2 separate regions of the Homo sapiens genome follow, and region 2 is linked to region 1. The links are contacts of gene promoters, found by promoter capture Hi-C in human tissues and cell types (Jung and others, 2019). All regions are on one chromosome and are shown on one strand. Each heading gives the region's core, a stretch centred on a gene start or on the middle of the fragment in contact. The rest is flanking DNA. Distances are from core to core; before and after follow the strand shown.

Region 1 (5,636 bases), core at 897-3,396:
TTATGATCCTCCCCCAGAATTAACATGCTGACTTAGGAAAAGACGAAGTAGATAAAGTCTATCCTAGTATAGAGAGCAATGGTTTACTTTTACCTAATTAAATATTTCCTTGTCATTTATCAATTGTCACTGACCTTTTTTATGTAATTATTTCCTCATTCACTCATCTATAAATATTTATTAGTGCCTGTTGTTACCCATGTCTCCTTGATTTTCCAGAAAAATAATTCATGTTTTTTTTTTCTTCTCATTGCTAAGCTCACTTAGAAAAATTAGGCACCATTTAAAAGACTTGGAGAACAGACCAGCGTGGCTTCTTGGGCACAGCTGGATGGTGCTGGAAGCCAGGCCTGGGATTTGGAGAGAAGAGTCTCCAACAGATAAACCCACGGAGGTCACCAGCCCTCCCTGCATCTACTCTCCTAACAGCTCAGGATGGCCCTGTTACACTACTGCCAGCCCTGGTGACTCGCTTTCTTAGCAATTTTTAAAGCCCTCTTCATTATGTACTTCCTACTTAAAATTCAGAACCTCTGTGATAAGCAATGCCTCTGTCATACAGAATGCTGGATCTCAGTTTACTGAGCCTCTCCCTGTAGTGTCACAGGCTGTGCACTCACCTAGATGAGCCCCTAAGAGCAGGGTTTGCTTCTGCTTCATCTAATGCCACATCTTCCCTCAAATGTGTGGTCACCAAATGTTCTGCAAAAAGGGTCTCTAGCTTTTTACTTTTCTTTTTGGCAAATTAAGCCCTTTAAAATACTTCTGACCTATCTTTATACTCAGATCTCACCTCATCTCAAGTTTTATGGGGTAATGCGCCAGTGAAAGGTACAGTGGTATTAGTGAGTTCTGAAGCTTCTAATTACATAGACAATAGAGGCTGGCTGGTGAGCCATGCTTCTCATGCTCCCTTCTGTCACACTGCAGAAATCTTAAGCTACAAGAGGAATGAAAGAGCCTATTTTTGAGAAATCCCCCCGCACTGCATTTTATGTTGATTATACCTAAATGTTTATAACTTGCTTGAAAATGCCTAATTTTCTTCATAGTGTAAATTGTTAACACTATTTACGTAGCAAATCCTTTTCTTAAGTAACCTTCATTTCAGGCATTGTAATAACCATAAATACCAAACTAATAGGTGCTAATCTAGAGATTTTCACTAAATTAATTCACATTTCTCCTAGCATTAAAAATAATGTGTCAAAGCATTTAAAAATCATCTGATTAATTACTTGTGATATGGATTTCGAGCTTTATCTCTGAATGGAATGCTTGTTTGTAGCTTATTTCTTCAACTTATTTTATTAACAATTATCTTTTAATATAACTTTTGTCTCTTTCCTCGTTTCACATCAGTATAGGATATTCTTGCCTTAATCTGCATTTCAGTACTTGCAAAGGCTGTTATTATAGAAGTGCTTTTCCTTAATGCTCAGTGTACTACCTTTTAACATACACATAGAGTAGTTATGTACTCCTATTTTACAGGGAAACTGCATCATTTAGAAATAGCATAGGAAATACTGTTTTCAGAATACAGCTGTCATTTATGTAAAGGAAATAAATATTTACTAGTCAAACTGGGCTTATCCAACTTTAGTATACAGATTGGGCTCTTTATGAGCCATAAAATAAATAATCTAGATAAGAATACTCTGCAGGAAAAACAGAATATTAACTCCACTTAATAAATTTATAAAGATTATTTAAATCAGAACTATTCATTCACCATCAACCTGTTTTATTTCAAAATTTTGACACCGATACTATTATATTAAAGCATAGCATGCCAAATTTTAATGATTTTTTGTTGTAATTTCAGATGAGGTTTTAAAAGGCAAGGTATCTCAGAAGACTTTAATCAAAAAGGATTTTGTGATTTGAGTAGCATTAATTTATTTTGTATGTGGCATTTTATATTAAACATAACTCAAACTTCTTAGCATTTTACCTTGAAGAAACAACATGGTATTTGTAGAAATGGTACACATTAAATAATAACTTGATTATCAAAATCTCATGAGATTCAGAAGTGAATTTTTAAGTTTACTTACCATACAATGTCTTAGAACAAGATCTTCGTTCAGGTATGTTAGTAGCTGATGCTGAGTAAACTAAAGACAACTGATGAATTGGACTGCAGACCCCTTAAATGGTGACTTTTATATATAGGTCTTCTGCTTACCAAGAGAGGCTCTTTTATTGTTACAGATGATGTCACTCCCAATTCTCTGGATCTCAACTATAGGTTCAAAGCAGCACATACACACACCCATTGGGCGGTGCACACTCTTCTTAAGTTTCAGATAATTGGATACTAAAAGGAAAACAGCATTTGGCTTGACAAGGGGCTTATGCAAAGACTTTTAACAAATACAGAATTATACCATCGAGAAAAATTCTATGTGGATTAATGAATCTGAATTTATACTGTAAAAAGACTGATTTCAAAGGTTTATGATAAAGTCATTATCTTACTTGAAAATAAAACCCAAAAATAAGTGTATTTGTTATAACCGTACTGTTGGTACAGTTTTTATGGTAATAAATCATAAATGTTAGGCTTACTTTACAAGCCATTTTCAACCAATCCATGTCACTTCTGGTCATCTTTCAAAAAACAGATATAGCCCTTTTCTTAAAGGAAGTGTTAAGAATAATTTGAGAAAATGCTCTTAGTACATAATTACTTTAAAAGCTTCAAAAGTGAAATTATTTTAAAATTTATTTAACTTATATTTTATTTGTGCATCTTAATCTATAATAATAACATTTGATAAGCACTAACTGCATGCCTAACTACATATATTATCCCACTAGATCTTCACAGCAGTCCTTTAAAGTTAGTACTTAAAGTACTAAAGTTAAGTGCTTATCCCCATTTTTACATGAGGAAACTTAGGCTTGGAAAGCAGAAAAGATGGAATTCAACAAAGGTCTTTATGACACCAGATTCTTACTACCTCAGTTTCTGCCTAGAAATACAGCCCTTCTTTGAACTCCAGTCTTCTTGACTTTAATTTGCAAAGTCATCTGAAAACACAGCAAAAGCTCTTTGCAACATTTTCCCCTAGGGGTTAGGTCTTTATTCTCATGTTCCCTAAGGGATGATGAGAGCCTGCTCCAAAACCTATTGGAGGCATGATGCTGCCACATGTCTGACTTCAAATATTCCTCCAGCAATATTTTCCTGGTCCACCTGTCAAAACACCCTGAATGTCTTTGATATATCTAGGACTCCTTTAGACAGCTTTGCCTTCCCACCAAAGATCCGGTGCCAGAGTGGGATCAGTTCTCTCAGCTCTGGTCCCATCCTGGCTTCATGTCATCCTTTTTCCTACTAGCCATTGTCAAGGTTTGACTCTACCTTAGGTAAGAGCCAGTACAAATTTGAATAGTAACCGTATGGAGTTTATAATGAGAGATATATACTAGTCCTGTCCTAGGAGATTCTCCACTCTGGGTTAACCTCACTTAGAGTGTTGCTCCAGGCTCCATTTTAGAAGCAGTAGAAACAAATGGGAACATACACTGAGGATATCAATCAGTTTGGTGAAAATGTTGAAAACTATAACATGAGAAGTAGTTGAATGAAACTAGAAAAGTCTGAGGAAAAAAAGACGGGATGACTTTATAGCTGTGTTTAATTATTTATAGGGTTACCATAAGGAAGAAGGAGTATTCTCTGTGGTTTAAGAAGGAAGGGCTGGGTTCATTGGGTTTAACTTGGACATTATAATTGTCAAAATAAGGAATCAAGTACCTTCTCAAATAGTGATTTCTCCATCACTGAGAATATTCAAGTAGAAGGTAGATGAGCATTTATCAGGCATACTATAGAGATTCATACATAGAAGAAAGTTGAACTAGATAACCAAGAGGTCTCTTTTAACTGTAAAAATCTGTTGTCTTGATCTTTTTAAAGACCTCTTCTGATGCAAACTCTACATGTGATGTTTGTGTGTCATTTTTCTGCTATACTCTGTTGAGAAGAAGAATTGGAAATACAGATGGTTTTTCTTTTTTCTTTGAGATAGGATCTCACTCTGTCACTCAGACTGGAGTGGTGCAGTGGTATGGACATGGCAGCCTCAACTTTCGGGGCTCAAGCAGTCCTTCCACCTCAGCCTTCTGAGTAGTGGGGGCTATAGGCACACAGCACCACAACCAGCTAATTTTTAAATTTTTGTGGAGGCAGAGTGTAGCTAAATTGCCCAGGCTGTCCTTGGCTCAAGCAGTCCTCCCACCTCTCGCTCCCAAAGTGCTGGGATTACAGGCATGAGCCACCACACCCAGCCACTAATGGATTTTTATTTTTTAACTTTTAAGTTCAGGGGTACATGTACAGGCCTGTTATATAGGTAAACTCATGTCGTGGAGGTTTATTGTACTAATTATATCATGACCCAGGTATTAAGCCTAGTGCCCATTAGTTATTTTTCCTGATCCTCCGCCTCCTTCCACTCTCCATCCTTCAGTAAGCCCCAGTGTGTGTGGTTCCCTTCTTTGTGTCCATGTGTTCTCATCTTTTAGCTCCCAATTATAAGTGAGACCATGAGATATTTGGTTTTCTGTTCCTATGTTAGTTTGCTAAGGATAGTGGCCTCTAGCTCCATCTTGTTCTTTTTTATGGCTGCCTAGTATTCCATGGTATGTAGGCACCACGTATTCTTTATCCAGTCTACCACTGTTGGGCATTTAGGTTGATTGCATGTCTTTGCTATTGTGAATAGTGCTATAATGAACATACGCATGCATATGTCTTTATTATAGAATGATTTATATTCCTTTGAGTATATACCCAGTAATGGGATTGCTGGATCAAATTGTAGTTTTGCTTTTAGTCTTTGAGGGATCGCCACACTGTTTTCCACAATTGTTGAACTAATTTACACTCCCACTAACAGTGTATAAATGTTCCTTTTTCTCCACAACCTCACCCATACCTGTTATTTTTTGGCTTTTTGATAACAGCCATTCTGACTGGTGTGAGATGGTGGCTCGTTATGGTTTTGATTTGCATTTCTCTGATGATCAGTGATGTTGAGCTTTTTTCCATACGCTTGTTGGCCACATGTATGTCTTATTTTGAAAAATGTCTGTTCATGTCCTTTACCCACTTTTTAATGGGGTTGTTTGTTTCTTGTAAATTTGTTTAATTTATAGATGTTGGATATTAGGCCTTTGTCAGATGCATAGTTTGCAAAAATTTTCTCCCATTCTGTAGGTTGTCTCTTTACTCTGTTGATAGTTTCTTTTGCTGTGCAGAAGCTCTTTAGTTTAATTATATCTCATTTGTTAATTTTTGCTTTCATTGCCATTGCTTTTGGCATCTTCTTCATGAAATCTTTGCTCATTCCTATGTCTATAACAGTATTGCCAATGTTGTCTTCCAGGGTTTTTATAGTTTCGGATCTTTAATCCATCTTGAGTTAATTTTTGTATATAGTGTAAGGAACAGGTCCAGTTTCAATCTTCTGCATACACAAATGGTTTTATAAACACATTTTTTGCATTGTTATTATAAAGCCATGCTTAATATTCTGATTTGGAGATTTTTCCCGCTTTGGGTAAGTTTAATGTAATTGACAGCCTTCTAGGAGTGATGCAATTATCACTTTCTTGTTCTT
Region 2 (5,636 bases), core at 1,534-4,033, 38 kb after region 1:
CTTGTCTTCTGCCAGTTTTCAAAGGGAATGCTTCCAGCTTTTGCCCATTCAGTATGATATTGGCTGTGGGTTTGTCATAAATATTATTATTTTGATATATGTTCCGTCATTGCCTACTTTATTGAGTGTTTTTAGCATGAAGTGTTGTTGAATTTTATCAAAGACCTTTACTGCATCTATTGAGATAATAATGTGGTTTTTGTCAGTGGTTCTGTTTATGTGATGGATTACGTTTATTGATTTGCGTTTGTTGAACCAGCCTTGCATCGCAGGGATGAAGCCGACTTGATTGTAGTGGATAAGCTTTTTGATGTGCTGCTGGATTCAGTTTGCCAGTATTTTATTGAGGATTTTCACAACAATGTTCATCAGGGATATTGGCCTGAAATATTCTTTTCTTCTTGTATCTCTGCCAGGTTTTGGTATCAGGATGATGCTGGCCTCATAAAATGAGTTAGGGAGGAGTCCTTCTTTTTCTATTGTTTGGAATAGTTTCAGAAGGAATGGTACCATTTCCTCTTTGTATCTCTGGTAGAATTTGGCTGCGAATCCACCTGGAACTGGGCTTTTTGTAGTTGATAGGCTATTAATTACTGCCTCAATTTCAGAACTTGTTATTGGTCTATTCAGGGATTTGACTTTTTCCTGGTTTAGTCTTGGGAGGTTGTATGTGTCCAGGAATTTATCCATTTATTCTAGATTTTCTAGTTTATTTGTGTAGAGATATTTATAGTATTCTCTGATGGTAGTTTGTATTTGTGTGGGATGAGTGGTGATATCCCTTTTATTATTTTTTTGTGTCTATTTGAGTCTTCTCTCTTTTCTTCTTTGTTAGTCTGGCCAGAAGTCTATTTTGTTAATCTTTTCAAAAAATCAGCTCCTGGATTCATTGATTTTTTGAAGGGTTGTTCATGTCTCTATCTCCTTCAGTTCTGCTCTGATCTTAGATATTTCTTGTCTTCTGTTAGCTTTTGAATTTGTTTTCTCTTGCTTCTCTAGTTCTTTTAATTGTGATGTTAGGGTGTTGATGTTAGATTTCTCCCATTTTCTCCTGTGGGCATTTAGTGCTATAAATTTCCCTCTAAACAATGCTTTAGCTGTGTCTCAGAAATTCTGGTACGTTGTGTCTTTGTTCTCGTTAGTTTCAAAGAAGATATTTATTTCTGCCTTAATTTCATCATTTACCCAGTAGTCATTCAGGAGCAGGTTGTTTGGTTTCTATGTAGTTGTGCGGTTTTGAGTGAGTTTCTTAATTCTGAGCTCTAACTTGATTGCACTGTGGTCTAAGAGACTGTTTGTTATGATTTCTGTTCTTTTACATTTGCTGAGGAGTGTTTTACTTCCAATTATGTGGTCTGTTTTAAAATAAGTGCTATGTGATGCTGAAAAGAATGCATATTCTGTTGATTTTGGGGGGAGTATTCAGTAGATGTCTATAAGGTCTGCTTGGCCCAGAGCTGAGTTCAAGTCCTGAATATTCTTGTTAATTTTCTGTCTCATTGATCTGTCTAATATTGACAGTGGGGTGTTAAAGTCTCCCACTATTATTGTGTGGGAGTCTAAGTCTCTTTGTAGGTCTCTAAGAACTTGCTTTATGATTCTGGTTGCTCCTGTATTGGGTGCATATATATTTAGGATAGTTAGCTCTTCTTGTTGCATTGATCTCTTTACCATTATGTAATGCCCTTCTTCGTCTTTTTTTATCTTTGTTGGTTTAAAGTGTGTTTTATTAGAGACTAGGATTGCAACTCCTGCTTTTTTTGGGTTTTCATTTGCTTTGTAAATATTCCTCCATCCCTTTATTGTGAGCCTATGTGTAGCTCATATGAGATGAGTCTCCTGAATACAGCACACCAATGGGTCTTGACTCTTTATCCAATTTGCCAGTCTGTGTCTTTTAATTGGGGCATTTACATTTAAGCTTAATATTGTTATGTGTTAATTTGATCCTGTCATCATAATGCTAGCTGGTTATTTTGCACATTAGTTGATGCAGCTTCTTCATAGTGTCATTTGTCTTTATATTTTGGTATGTTTTTGCAGTGGCTGGTACCAGTTTTTCCTTTCTGTATTTAGTGCTTCCTCAGGAGCTCTTGTAAGGCAGGCCTGTTGGTGACAAAAATCCCTCAATATTTGCTTGTCTGTAAAGGATTTTATTTCTCCTTCGCTTATGAAGCTTAGTTTGGCTGCATATGAAATTCTGGGTTGAAAATTCTTTTCTTTAAGAATGTTGAATATTGGCCCCCACTCTCTTCTGGCTTGTAGGGTTTTTGCAGAGATATCTGCTGTTAGTCTACTGGGCTTCCCTTTGAGGGTAACCTGACCTTTCTCTCTGGCTGCCCTTAACATTTTTTCCTTCTTTTCATCCTTGGTGAATCTGATGATTATGTGTCTTGGGGTTGCTCTTCTCAAGGAGTATCTTAGTGGTGTTCTCTGTATTTCCTTAATTTGAATGTTGGCCTGTCTTGCTAGGTTGGGGAAGTTCTCCTGGATAATATCCTGAAGAGTGTTTTACAGCTTGGTTCCATTCTCCCCATCACTTTGAGGTACACCAGTCATTTGTAGTTTTGGTCTTTTCACATAGTCCCACATTTCTTGGAGGCTTTGTTCATTCCTTTTCATTCTTTTTTCTCTATCTTGTCTTCATGCTTCATTTCATTAAATTGATCTTCAATCTCATATCCTTTCTTCTGCTTGATCAATTTGGCTATTGATACTTGTGTATGCTTCATGAAGTTCTCATGCTGTGTTTTCAGCTCCATCAGGTCATTTATGTTCTTCTCTAAAATGGTTATTCTAGTTAGCAGTTCCTGTAACCTTTTACCAACATTCTTAGCTTCCTTGCATTGTGTTAGAACATGCTCCTTTAGCTCGAAGGAGTTTGTTATTACCCACCTTCTGAAGCCTACTTCTGTCAATTCGTCAAACTCATTCTCCATCCAGTTTTGTTCCCTTGCTGGCAAGGAGTTGTGTTCCTTTGGAGGAGAAGAGGCATTCTGGTTTTTGGAATTTTCAGCATTTTTTGCACTGGTATTTCCTCATCTTTGTGGATTTATCTACCTTTTATCTTTGATGCTGAGGACCTTTGATGGGGTTTTTGCATGGGCATCCTTTTACTTGATGTTGACTTTGATGTTATTGCTTTCTGTTTGATAGTTTTCTTTCTAACAGACAGGCCCCTCTGCTGCAGGTCTGCTGGTGTTTGCTGGAGGTCCACTCCAGACCCTATTTGCCTGGGTATCACCAGTGGAGGCTGCAGAACAGCAAAGATTGCTGCCTGCTCCTTCCTCTGGAAGCTTCACCCCAGAGGGGCACCCGCCAGATACCAGCCAGAGTTCGCTTGTATGAGGTATCTGTCGACCCCTGCTGGGAGGGGTCTCCCAGTCAGGAAGCATGGGGGTCAGGGACTCACTTGAGGAGGCAGTCTGTCCCTTAGCAGAGCTTGAGTGCTGTGCTGGGAGATCCGCTGCTCTCTTCACAGCTGGCGGCCAGTAATGCTTAAGTCTGCTGAAGCTGTGCCCACAGCCACCCCTTCCCCCAGGTGTTCTGTCCCAGGGAGATAGGAATTTTATCTATAAGCTCCTGACTGGGGCTGCTGCCTTTCTTTCAGAGATGCCCTTCCCAGAGAGGAGAAATCTAGAGAGTCAGTCTGGCTACAGTGACTTTGCCGCGCTGTGGTGGGCTCCACCAAGTGTGAACTTCTGGCAGCTTTGTTTACACTGTGAGGGATAAACCGCCTACTCAAGCCTCAGTAATGGCGAATGCCTCTCCCCTGACCAGGCTGACCTAGTGTCCGAGGTTGACTTCAGACTGCTGTGCTGGCAGCGAGCATTTCAAGCCAGTTGATCTTAGCTTGATGTGCTCCATGGGGTGGGACCCACTGAGCAAGACCACTTGGCTCCCTGGCTTCAGCCCCCTTTCCAGCGGGGTGAACAGTTCTGTCTCACTGGGGTTCCAGGTGCCACTGGGATATGGGAAAGAAAAAACTTCTGCAGCTAGCTTGGTGTCTGTTCAGTCGCCCAGTTTTTTGCTTGAAACCCAGGGCCCTGGGGATGTAGGCACCCGAGGGAATCTCCTGGTCTGCGGGTTGCAAAAATTGTGGGAAAAGCATAGTATCTGGGCCAGATAGCACTGTCCCTCATGGCACAGTCCCTCAGCTCTTCCCTTGGTAAGATGAGGGAGTTCCCCAACCCTTACACTTCCTGGGTGAGTTGACTCCCCACCCTGCTTTGGCTGTCCCTCCGTGGGCTGCACCCACTGTCTAGTCCCAGTGAGATGAACTGGGTACCTCAGTTGGAAATGCAGAAGTCACCCACCTTCTGCATTGGTCTCACTGGGAGCTGCAGATTGGAGCTGTTCCTATTTGGCCATCTTGCCTCTCCACCAGTAATAATAATTTTTAAAAGCCTAGAAACAACCCAAATGTTCAACTGGTGAATAGATAATAGCACTACATACGTTTTCAGAACTCATTAAATTACACTTAAGATAGGAGGCTGAGGCAGGAAAATGGCGTGAACCTGGGAGGTGGAGCTTGCAGTGAGCTGAGATTGCACCACTGCACTCCAGCCTGGTCGACAGAGCAAGACTCTGTCTCAAAAAAAAAAAAAAAAAAAAAATTACACTTAAGAACTATTTAAACATACAATCATATGTAAATAATATGTCATTAAAGCTGATGTGAAGACCCCTTCTCTCCCCAAAAAAACTCATTTAAAAGTGAAAAAATTGAGGTCTAAAGGTAGGTGATCACTCAATTAGCAGAAGTTAGAAGTTCATCCAGCATTAGAACCAGTCCTTGACTCTTTATCTACGGTCCCTTGTATTACAGTTTGTAGCTGATTATCTTAAAAAGGAAAACATCAGATATACTTTCATTTATTTACCCTCCCCACCCCCCATCTCCTATTTGCAAGATCTTTTTGGGAAGATGATAATTAAATGTTTGTCTTCTTGTGTTTGTCCTCTATTGAGCTCAACCTGGGATCAAACCTGTGAATAAATAATATATTGAATTCCTCAGTCGAGTGACAGTTTGTCTTTTAGTATTTATATCTCTTTAGTAGTAGAGGATTGGTAATTCCTTCTACTAGTTTAACAGGCTAAGAAGAAGTAAGAAAGTCTCAGACAGTGGTTTGATAAAAACGAATGATGTTGTTTCTAGGTTTGTGAATTCTTTTATGTTGTCTTGTTCCAAGAGAGCAAATACTTTGGAACTCAGAAGTATTTGGGTTTCCTGTGAAGGCCACTTTGCAGACTTCATATGGAAAATACAGGGGAGCCCCCTGGTGTAACTTCTTGTTATTGACTTGAGTAATGCCCCCATCGAGTGGAGCAAAGAGAACCTGGTGGTAGGGTGGTTGGTAGAAGGGATGAAACCTGGAATAAAGGGTATTTTGACATCTTGCTGATTCAAATGCTCCTTACACTTGTGTGATGAACTTTATAATTAAAAGTTCATCACACTTTAATTCTACAGGTGACTTTAGAATTAAAAGTTATATGTTACAGTATGGTTTACAAAGGGCATTTGTTTAAATTATTAGGTTCAATTTACTAATGGTTTTATGGAGTAGGTATTACAATTTAAATTTTACAAATTAGGAAAGTGAAGCTTAGAGATGCAGAGATTGACT

What was found. Contacts are between HindIII fragments. The study calls those that stand out against the background at their distance.
Region 2: a fragment that was not itself captured here is called in contact with the fragment with the promoter of PTH in region 1 in 2 of the 25 tissues and cell types used here (hippocampus and thymus).

What each region holds. Positions count from the first base shown.
Region 1 is chr11:13,493,851-13,499,486 of GRCh38, forward strand. PTH (parathyroid hormone) reads right to left here and starts at 2,147. Exons shown (of 3, transcript NM_000315.4): 1 at 2,061-2,147. RefSeq lists promoters at 2,080-2,830, 2,092-3,151, 2,144-2,306, an enhancer at 2,521-2,542 and silencers at 5,467-5,636, 5,468-5,568. The HindIII fragment of the contact is 4,838 bases long and covers 1-4,824 here.
Region 2 is chr11:13,530,746-13,536,381 of GRCh38, forward strand. No RefSeq gene overlaps it. Among named protein-coding and RNA genes, the nearest start is that of PTH, 38 kb to the left of the region's middle. The HindIII fragment of the contact is 3,343 bases long and covers 1,113-4,455 here.